3 separate regions of the Homo sapiens genome follow, and regions 2 and 3 are each linked to region 1. The links are contacts of gene promoters, found by promoter capture Hi-C in blood cells and fetal thymus (Javierre and others, 2016). All regions are on one chromosome and are shown on one strand. The core of a region is centred on a gene start or on the middle of the fragment in contact, and the rest is flanking DNA. Distances in the headings are between cores, read along the strand shown.

The links. Contacts are between HindIII fragments. The CHiCAGO score rates a contact against its expected background, and 5 or more counts as called.
Region 2: a fragment that was not itself captured here is called in contact with the fragment with the promoter of CCDC59 in region 1 in 3 of 17 cell types (non-activated CD4 T cells, total CD8 T cells and total B cells); the score reaches 11.0 in non-activated CD4 T cells.
Region 3: the fragment with the promoter of ZDHHC17 here is called in contact with the fragment with the promoter of CCDC59 in region 1 in 9 of 17 cell types (non-activated CD4 T cells, total B cells, naive CD8 T cells and 6 more); the score reaches 15.7 in non-activated CD4 T cells.

The regions. Positions count from the first base shown.
Region 1 is chr12:82,356,519-82,360,059 of GRCh38, forward strand. CCDC59 (coiled-coil domain containing 59) reads right to left here and starts at 1,869. Exons shown (of 4, transcript NM_014167.5): 1 at 1,705-1,869; 2 at 442-751. The coding sequence starts at 1,858. It overlaps METTL25 (methyltransferase like 25), which reads left to right and starts at 2,011. Exons shown (of 12, transcript NM_032230.3): 1 at 2,011-2,306. The coding sequence starts at 2,048. RefSeq lists enhancers at 1,678-2,238, 1,749-2,308, 2,239-2,799. The HindIII fragment of the contact is 1,548 bases long and covers 1,634-3,181 here.
Region 2 is chr12:88,147,149-88,150,689 of GRCh38, forward strand. It overlaps TMTC3 (transmembrane O-mannosyltransferase targeting cadherins 3), which reads left to right. Exons shown (of 14, transcript NM_181783.4): 2 at 1,140-1,356. The coding sequence starts at 1,168. Among named protein-coding and RNA genes, the nearest start is that of TMTC3, 6.6 kb to the left of the region's middle. The HindIII fragment of the contact is 2,350 bases long and covers 678-3,027 here.
Region 3 is chr12:76,762,513-76,766,053 of GRCh38, forward strand. ZDHHC17 (zDHHC palmitoyltransferase 17) reads left to right here and starts at 1,603. Exons shown (of 17, transcript NM_015336.4): 1 at 1,603-1,817. The coding sequence starts at 1,725. RefSeq lists enhancers at 1,101-1,200, 1,497-1,791, 1,767-2,609, 1,801-1,950 and a silencer at 1,341-1,750. The HindIII fragment of the contact is 3,524 bases long and covers 269-3,541 here.

The DNA of each region.
Region 1 (3,541 bases), core at 619-3,118:
GTATTATCTTTCCCAATTTAAAGAGGACATAGTGTTATTTTTCCCATTTTAAAGAAGAGGTCACTGGGGCACTAACATGTTGAGTCTGGCTCTAGAACCCATACTGTTAATGACTAAAATTATAACACCTCTCAGAAGTTATTTTTCAAAAATATAGTCATAACATATGGTCCAATCAAGTTACCACCTGTACTTGAGAGGAAGAAACCCAAATTCCAGAGCTCTTAATTCCCATTACGTTACTTTGTCAATTAGGCTAAACCAGCCTAATTCAGTTATTGAAGCTAAAAATAGAGCCTCCATGAAAATGTTTCCCTAATTAAACCGTGACTTCTAAAATGTGTTAAATAAGAAAAAATACAATTCCTATATAAATTATCCTATAGTACTTTTAAATAATAAAACAACACTTAAAGGATTTCAAATGAAGAAAATACATACTTTACTGTTTTAATACATTGTTCTTCTGGCTGAGGCTGGTCAAAGCTACACTGATCTTCAAATAAAGGCTCGTCAATGCTACACTGTTCTTCAAGCAACGGCTGGTGAACTTGTTCTGACAAAGGATGGTCGACTTTTCTTGCTTGCTTCCTATGTCTTTCCTCTTCAGCTAAATAGAGATGTTTCAGATTATCTGGGTATCGATCTGTGAATTGAGATTCCAGTGACGTTTGAGCCTTCTTTTCCTTCCGTAGCAATTTCTTGTAACTTTGCTGTATTTTCAGTTTTCTTCGAAAAGCAAAGCCTTGTCCTACATTGAGGAATATCATCCAAAATTACTTTCAGAGAAAAGAAGTTGAACGAAGAATGGAGCTGTTAATTACAAATGAAAACTTTTTTTACGTCATCACATTCAGATTCTAGTATTATATTTTGCTTTAAAAAATTATTTCAAGCAACAAATTTAAGCTGATGGATTGCATAGTAAGTTGGCCCTTTGCAAAAAGACCAGGCTAACAGTCATGCGGAAATCCAAGTAAGAATCTCAAAGAAAAACTGACCAGTTCAGACTGTTGCACAACTTGAGTTTACAGCTGTATTCACAAATCAAAACAAATTCCTTAGTTCATCTAAAACACTTAATCTGAGCCTTCAATAAATGCTTAAAAAATAGGAAAGAAAATGCCACATCTAGTATCTTGGACAAACTACATGTTTTCGAAAATGTTTCAACACGAAAGAAAAAGACAGTGTATGGTTGTCTGAAAAGCTAGCAATTATCGGAAGACTGAATTTAACATTTATATATTCCAAGTGGGATCTAAGAGACCTTACAGACAGCAATACAAAATGACAAACACAAATTAAAGCGAAGGCTGGAGGGCCTCGGGTATTTGTAATAAGGAAGAATTCGGAGCAGTGTTTCTGGCCCTGTCCTCCTCTCTATCCTTTACCTTACCACATGCGCAAGAGTTCACAGGGTCATAGACTCTCTCTGCTCAGTTTCTCAGGAAAAATATAGGAAAAAAGTTCTGATGAAATACAGGGTTACGTCAGAAAAGACGTTTAAATAATAGCAACACTGCTCCGTCTTCCTATCTAGAGCTCTGCGAAGCTCACAGCTTTAGCGGGCTCAGGAATGAATTCCCTTGCCCCAAGTAGGACCGGGTCTGGTTCCTAAATCCTTCTTCCAAGCTTCAGCGAATCTTATATCCTAAAACTTAGCAAGCCTGAGGATTTGCAAATGGTTGCCTTCTTACATACCCTCGCGAACGCTCCCCACGAAGGCTTGCGGGTGGTTAGGCCGCCATGTCTTCTGTCTCACATTCTTATTCCTGTACCCGACAGTGGAAACCCCTTCACCACGCGCCTCAATACCACCAGGCCGCCACTTCGCGGACCGCCTCACCGGCGCCATTGCAGCCGACTAACTGCGTCATCAGAAGACCACGACGGACGCCCACAAAATACGTCACCAAGCCGAAGCAATCAATCGCTCAGAAGGAATCCGGCTCGGAGCTCTACTGAGCCTGCCTGTGCTAATTTGGGCCGAGCTGGCGCCTCACGGCCATGTTTGCGCCACCTACAGCCTCGGAGGGTGAGCGTCATGGCGGCTTCTTGCCCTCTCCCGGTGACCCCGGACCTGCCCACGCTGCGTGCCAAGTTGCAGGGACTGCTGCAGTTCCTGAGGGATGCCCTGTCCATTTCCAATGCACATACCGTGGATTTCTACACAGAATCCGTGTGGGAGGAGCTGGTCGACTTGCCACCGGAGACAGTGCTGGCTGCGCTGAGGAAGTCAGCGTCGGAGACGGAGGCCCTGCCCTCAGAGACGCGCCCCCTAGTGGAAGCAGAGTGGGAAGCAGGTGGGTGGTGGGGTAGGCGGGGCGGGAAGGGAGGCGGAGGAGAAGGTCCCGGCAGACGAAGCGAGCCCCCTGGTGGAAGCCAGCAGAACCAGGTGCGTGGCGGCGGAGGCGGGGCGGCCCGCTGGGAAACCGAGGAGGGGTCGGATTAGTTGAGGGGTGGGGTGGGGATGTTCTTTGGAATCAGGATCACTCTTTCTTTGGGTGCTTGTGTATGTCCACAATTTAAAGAAAGCAGGAAACAGGGCAGGGGAGTTCCTTCATCTAGTAATTCCATAATAATTGACGCTAGGGAAACTAGGGGAGCAGTGCTCTCACAGGTTTTATAAATGCCAGCATGTGGTGGAAGATTACTCAACAGTTAATAAAGATAATTTCAAGTGGTGGTAATGAAGTAGAAAATAAAAACAGTGTAATGTGGTAGGGATTGTGTAAGGAGGCTGCCTCAATTTAGGAGGTCAGGAACATGAGAAGGCACTAGCTGCAGAGCCACAGGGAGGGGTTGCAGGCGGTGGGAACCGCAGGCTAGGCTTGGCTCTAGCCAGGTGAGGGGCTGCAGGTGCAGGACGGGAGGCAAGCAGAGGCCAGATGGCACAGGCCTTTCTAGGCCTTGGAAGGATTTTGGATTTTAAGTGTGACGGAAACCCTTGGGATTATTTAGGCAACATAGTGACCTAATTCACATTTGAAAAGATAACTGTGAATTATTTGAAGAATAGACTAGGGCAAAAGCTGAAGCTGAGAGGCCAGTTAGGAGACTACCTCAGTAGTACAACAGATGATTGTATCTTGGACTAGGATGGTATTCGGATAGTCACTATTTCATTTAAAAACTATTTTAAAGTACCTAATATGTGTCTTGAATTTTTGTAGGCTCAAGCTTTTCCTACCCTCAAGAAATGTAGATTCTTCTCAGGCAAGCATATTTTGGAAGTAGAATGATGGACACCAACAGGCTTCTGGGATTTTTACTTTCCTTCTAGACTTCCCAAAGTTACCCTTACTAGTGAACTTTATTCATTGAGCATTCTCTGAATGCAAAGCATCACTAGAGGGACCTCTTATAATAGCACTTGGTAAATACTGTTGTTGTTTTTTTAAGTAATTGTTATTGAAAAGTTAGGCACTTCTTCAGTTTGCTCTCATAATAAATATATGGCACTTATGATATGACAATTTTACTTAAACTCCAAAAGAGCAGAGTCTTTGTCTGACTTGTCAACTGATGTATTCCCAGC
Region 2 (3,541 bases), core at 603-3,102, 5.8 Mb after region 1:
AGGATGTTAGATTCTCTTAAACATTGCAAGTACTCTAAAAATTAGATACATAAGTTGTTCCCAAGTATAACTTTAAAGCACTGAAACCACAGGTTTAATTTACTTTTTTCTTCTATTAATTTTAAACTTTCCTGTGGTTAGAACATTTAACCAAACAACAGTTTGTCACCCCAAGTGAATTGATGTTACCAAGCCAGTGGCCTGAGGTTATTTATGGGAAGAGAGGTTTCTGACCTGTACACAAAACTTGATTTTTACCTACCCAAAGGTAGATATCCTGAGTTGTTTCATTCGGTTTTTCTAAATTACAACATGTATATATAGCTGTCCTATATTGGATCCCATTTCCTGATTTCTGTATCTTTGTTTCTTAATATACTGTTTCATTTTACTAGTGTACCTTTTCTCCTAGTTTCTTGAAAAGGAACATCAGAGGTAAATTTTTTGAGACCTTTAATGACTTAGGTTTTTATTCTACTTTCCCACCTGGAAAACTTAGGTTTATTAATATAGAATTTTAGTTTAGAAATCAATATGCCTCAGAAGTTTGAAGCATTACTCCTTTTTTATTTTGGAAGGGAATTTTTTGTTTTGTTTTGTTTCTAACAGCATTTTGGGTGAAAAAAAAAAGATTTTTGATTCCTGATCCTTACTCTGGAACCTTTTTTATTTCCAGAAGCTTTTAGAATCCTATTTGTTTTCAGTGTTGTAAAGTTTTACAGAATTTTGTGCCCAGTAGAAAAGGGATGGAGGGTCTCAACCTAAAATATATGGACAGACTTTTTTTTACTTAGCCTTTATTTTCAATATGCTGCCTTTTCCCTGTTATCAGAGACCCTATGTTTTAAATAATCCACAGAGGAAACCTCCAGTCTTCTGCCTTGGAATAGGAGAGGTTACTTGGCTTTATCCCGTAAGAGAGGGGGCTGACATAATGTCCCCGTTATCAGGGACATTATCCAGTAAGAGATGGGGCTGAGTTTCAACAATGTGACTAGCTTATGCTTCTTAGAAGTGGATGGCATTTTAGCTGCGCTTTTCTCTGGAGAATTAATATGCAATTACTTACCCACCTACTAAAATTGAACTTACTTGGAATAAATATGTTCCTTATTTTATCTTCATGATTTTTTTTCCAGTTTTTGTCCAGAAGTGCTTATAGAAAAGATGGCTAATATTAACCTAAAAGAAATAACCTTAATAGTAGGTGTGGTTACTGCCTGCTATTGGAACAGCCTCTTTTGTGGTTTTGTTTTTGATGATGTTTCAGCAATACTGGATAACAAAGACTTGCATCCATCTACACCTTTAAAAACTTTATTTCAAAATGACTTCTGGGGAACCCCTATGTCTGAGGTAAGTAATTACTTACATATTACTTGTACATGTCTCAGATTTTGAAATATTCTGGTATTTTATTACTTCTAATTCTTTATCAACATTATCATCACAACAGTTACAGATTTTTAACCCTAAAATGTTTATATGAAACGTAACATGTTTGTAATAAATTGAACAGGAAGCTGAGGATGAGTACTTTAAAGCAGTACTTGGTTATTTCTTTGCCTGTGTACCTTGGCTGCTGCTTTTTTTTTTTTAACTTTTATTTTAGATACAGGGCTACATATGCAGATTTGTCACGTGGGTATATTGCGTTATGCTGATGTTTGGGGTACCAATCTGTCACCCAGACAGCGAGTATAGTACCCAATAGGTAGTTTTGGCTTAACTTCTTAAAAATAATATATATTTATGTGAAAACCAAATGTATAGGGAGAGCAATAGGTGTAATACATGCCTGTTTCTTGCTAATTGACTTTATTTCTCTTTTTTCTGTCTTGTGAGTAAGGCAAAAGAGATGTGATATATTTCAACATTTTAAAATATGGCAACTTCAATATAAATAGATAAGAATTTAAGAGTAAAAATAGTAAGTACACATATTGCCAATTTCTCTTGCAGAAGAAGTGGTTATTACAAATTTTGAATCTTTGTCCTATCTCTTACATAATAGTTATTTAGGTTATATATCGAGAACCCAAAAGTTTAGTTCAATAATTTAATATTTTATTCATCCATATGGTTCATTTTTATGAGGGTATTTTTACTGTTTTGAAGGTCACTGTTAAACTGTTGGGATTAAACCCTTATCAGCTTGATATCATATAGAATGGATTCTAATTTTAGTTATGTCATATATTAACTGTGTGAAATAGGTGAGAATACATCTTTCAGATGGAAAGTAATTTTCCTGATCTGTAAAAGAGGATAATTCCTTTCCAAAATAAAAAAGAGAGTAATGCTTCAAATTTCTGGGGGATATTGATTTCTAAACTAAAATTCTATATTAATAAACCTAAATTTCCCAGGTGGAAAAGTAGAATAAAAACATAAGTCATTTAAGGTCTCAAGTAATAAATGAATTATTTTATCTACACTACCTGGCACATAGATATTGAATAAATTGTTGAAACATAACATGTAACTCTCTGCAATGTTAACAGTATGTTTCTCGGTCATTGTGGCCTCTTTCCCCATTCCCCAAATTTGGAAGCCTCTCAAGGTTAGGGATGGAATCTTTCATTCCTCTGATCACAAGCACATATAATTATTTTGTCTTATTTAGTAAGAAGACTTTATTCGCCTTTTTGTTCTCACCCAATTCTAGCTTTTGAAAAAAAATCTTTTGATAGTAAGGGGGAAAATATGGCCCTATTATACATTATTCTACACAGCTTGTCCTCCTCTATACCTACCTTTGATCTCCAGAGACCCTCAGAACTATGTGTCCATTCCCTCAATTTATGCTAGTATCTGTTATGATTTTAATCATAATGTTGAGGTTTTGAACTGATGGTTTAGCTGGCCATATTAAATGGTCTCATTTTCTAGATTAGGCTATTCTTGTATTGCTACGAAGAAATACCTGAGACAGGGTAATATATAAGAAAAGAGGTTTTATTGGCTCACAGTTCTGTCAGCTGTACAAGAAGCATAGCAGCATCTGCTTCTGGGGAGGCCTCAAGAAGCTTGCAGTCATGGCAGAAGGGGAAGCAGGAGCAGGCACTTCACATAGCAAAAGCAGGAGCAAGAGGAGTACGGTGGGAGGTGCTACACAGTTTTGAACAGCCAGCTCTCTCAAGAACTCATTGTAGCAAATACAGTACCAAGTGGGGTGGTGCTAAACCATTCATAGGAAATCCACCCTAATAATCCAATCATTTCCCACCAGGCCCCACTTCCAATATTGGGGATTACATTTTGATATAAGATTTGGGCAGGGACACACACATATCACATACCATGGTGTCAGTGATCTGTTCAGTGATTTTCTCAGCTTTGCAGATTGAAAATTTGATTTTGTTCAGAAAGCCCGTAAGCAGATGGACTAAGAAAAAGACTCATATGTTCTGACAGAATGGATGAACAAACTAGAATAACAGTTTATTAAGAGTGAAGAGTGTAGTTGTGTAGTTTCCTTGTATTTTCTGATGGGCATATTCTCTCCCTGAAGGCAAATGTGACACTAGGGAAAATTATT
Region 3 (3,541 bases), core at 353-2,852, 5.6 Mb before region 1:
TATGACACGCCATATTCACCCCTCTTTGAGTAACTGCTGCTCTTACTAGTGTTGCTACTTTATTACTGGAGGTACCTAATTACTAAATTGCTGTATCCTCAAGACAGCATCCAATCCCTCGTAAATCCCAGCTTTTCTTCATGCCGCCACGGAAACGGCGTCCCATGCAGAACTGATTCTGGCTCTCCTTAGACCCTCCTCAGACTCCTTTGGCGGGAAACTAATCTTACAAAGGAGGCTTCCTCTTTCCTTTTCCAGTGGCATTCCAAGCTTCCTTTGGAGTGCCCTCCCTCCTGATTTACAAATTGGCCTGACGTTATCGGAGTACAGGCTTTTTCCTGGTGGTTTCTGGCCTAACAGGAGACAGATTAGTAAGTACCAGGATCTCTAATAGGTCAACTTTCATGATCTCTGCTAAATTCTCAGCTGTTTAGACTTACAATTTTTAACAGCTAAAAGGAAAGACAAATGCTATCTAAAACTGTCCCATCAGCCCATTTACAGGGAGCACCTCCCCCATACCGCCCTAAAATCCTTTAAAAAATGGCTTTAGTCATTTTATCTGCCTTGCATTTAAGCGAATTCAGTTTAAGTGGCTTCAGTTCTGAATTCCTGGATTATATCGAAATGTTGCAGATGGCGGTGTGTGGGCTTTGAGCTCGTAAATTTTTTGTGTGGTACTAATTCAAGACGATTGAGAGCAGGTTGGGATCATTTTAAAAAGAGTTCTCGGCAGGGTGTGGTGACTCAAGCCTGTAATCCCAGCACTTTGGGAGGCCGAGGCGGGCGGATCGCTTAAGGTCAGGAGTTCGAGACTAGCCTGGCCAACATGGTGAAAACCCGTCTCTACTAAAAATACAAAAATTAGCCGGGCGTGGTGGCGTGCACCTGTAATTCCAGCTACTCGGGAGGCTGAGGCAGGAGAATCGCTTGAACCGGGAGGCAGAGGTTGCAGTGAGCTGAGATCGCGCCATTGCACTCCCGCCTGGGCGGCAAGAGCAAAACTCTGTCTCATTAAAAAAAAAAAAAAAAAAAAAAAAAAAAAAAAAAGGGTTCTCTAGTAGGAAGTCCCGAGTTGTATCCATGTTTTTCCGGGCGTCCCCCGGAGGGACAGGTTGCGGGTGACCTTTTCAAGTGTGGAGGAAAGGGAAGCTGCTTTTGTCTTCAGGAATGATGCAGGTCTCGACTCAAGCCTGACGGGCCCAAACCTCCCTGGAGCTGGCTGACGACTCTGCCCGAGTTCCTGAAGAGGGGTCCCGGGGGTCCCGGAGCGGAAGTGGGAGCGCGTGGGCGTGGGCTCCTCGGCTGCCTGGGGCTCCAGACTTGTGCTGCGTGCGGCTCCGGAGCTCTGTTCTCGCTCCTGAGCAGCTGCTAGGTTTCCCAAGCGACTGTCTCAACCGCCCGGCCGCCTCCCCCGGGCAGCCAGAGCTTCACATCTACCTCCAGCCGGGACCCGCCCCCGAGCCGCGGGGCCCACGCCCAGAGCCCTCCGCCGTCCCCAGCGCAGTGCAGCAGAGCGCGATCCAGTCTGGGGCCGGGCCGCGCTTCCGCGCACGCGCGGAGAAACCCGCGCCCTCCGAGGGGGGAGGGGACAGAGGGGGCGTCACGGGGGCAGGAGAAGAAGGAGGAGGAGGCCCGCGTCGCCTCCGGCGGGGCTCGCGCTCGCCCCGCGCTCGCCCTCCGCCTCGCCCGAGCCCCGGGAGGGTGAAACGCTTTCTCCCAGCATGCAGCGGGAGGAGGGATTTAACACCAAGATGGCGGACGGCCCGGATGAGTACGATACCGAAGCGGGCTGTGTGCCCCTTCTCCACCCAGAGGTGAGGAACCGTGCTGAGTGGATTCCTTGCCCTGCGGCCCTCCAGCCTTTCTTCCCCGGACTCGCCGAGGGCGGCGGCCGACGTGTGTGGGGTAGTGGGACGTGCCGAAGTTGGGGAGGGTGGGGAGGCGAATCCAGGCCTGAGCGCGGCTGCGAGCGGATAACGGGGGAGGAGATAGCGGGGCGGGCCCGACCGGGGCGGGCTCTGGGACGCAGTCCCTGGCTGTGCCTGGAGGACAGAGGTGGAGGTGTTGATGGTTCTGCTGTGTCGCCGCGCTGCGTTTGAGAGCAGAGGCGGAGGGGCCTGGTGTGGTTTTTGAACCGCAGCTTAGACCCTAGTCTTGCTCCAAGCCTCTTGGGGCCAGGTGGAAGCGCGTCTGGTTTTGATTTCTTTTTCCTTCGCCAGGGTGAATGACGGTATCTATTGCTTCCTTTTAGTCCACTGTGAGGGGACAGTTTCATGGGCATAGTGATGTCCTTCCAGGTAATGCCATGGGTAGCACCTCGGGCACCTTGTGTCGGGCGTCCTTTTTTGAGCATTTGTCCTTAAGCGATTAAGAAGAGAGGTAAAAACTTTTGGGAATAGACTTACACTCACATTAGCTTGTCAAAGTACCGTTTTTCTAGGAGCTAGGGGTGGACAGTGCAACACGTTTCCCATCACAACATGAGTGTCTTCCCATGTAAGTAAACAGTGCCCCGCTCCACAGTCAGTCAGTCTGTGCTTGTTTACCTCCGAGTTTGTAGCTGAGCTAGTGCTAGTTAAGGCTTGGAAGCAATTCTTGATGCATTCTGATTTTTAGTGATCCACAGTGATGTCTGTATGCGGCAGCGGCACAGTTTGCTGAAGAACTCGGGTAGTTTTCATGAGGTTAAAAGATGACAGTCGTGTTGTAGGATGAACAAACATGGAAGTCTCTACCTGGTTACTTTGCAATGGAGTGATTCTGTTTTTTTCTGGATTTGGGTTTGTACCATGCCACTAGTTTTTGTTAAAAAGTGAATAATGACAACCATCCTTTTATGTTGCATGTTAACACTCAACCACCCTCTCATTCGTCACTTTGGTTTATCAAAAACACATGGGACAGTTCCTTCGGAATATATACCTGTGCCAGTCTCAGTAGAAAAGGCTACTCTGGGTTTCTGATAAACAGAACTATACAGTAAGACTAAACACTTGTCTGACCAAAGTGGTAACATTTTCAGAACTGGCATTGTAGACATCTCTTTTGGTTCACTTAGGCCCTAACATACGTCAGGAAATAGACAAAGTAGTTTTCAGATGTTGCCTTGAAAATGTTGCTAAGTGATTTCTATTCATCTGTTCCTGTGAAAGTATTCGTGAAAGTATTTCAAACACTTAAGTGTTTATCCAGTTTATTTTTTTGAGACGGGGTTTCTCCCTGTCCCCCAGGCAGGAGTGCACTGACACGATGACAGCTCACTGCAGCCTCTACCTCCAGGGCTCAAGTGATCCTCTCCCCTCAGCCTCCTGAGTAGCTGTGACCACAGGCTCGCGCCACCATACCCGGCTGATTTTTTTATTATTTGTAGAAGAAGAGGTCTCCCTATGTTGTCTAGGCTGGTCTTGAACTCTTGAACTCAAGTGGTCCTCTCACCTTAGCTACTTAAAGTGCTGGGATTACAGGCATGAGCCACCATGCCAGGCCTATCTTACGTATTTTAGCATACTGTTCTTCATAAACCTTTGCTTTGTAATAT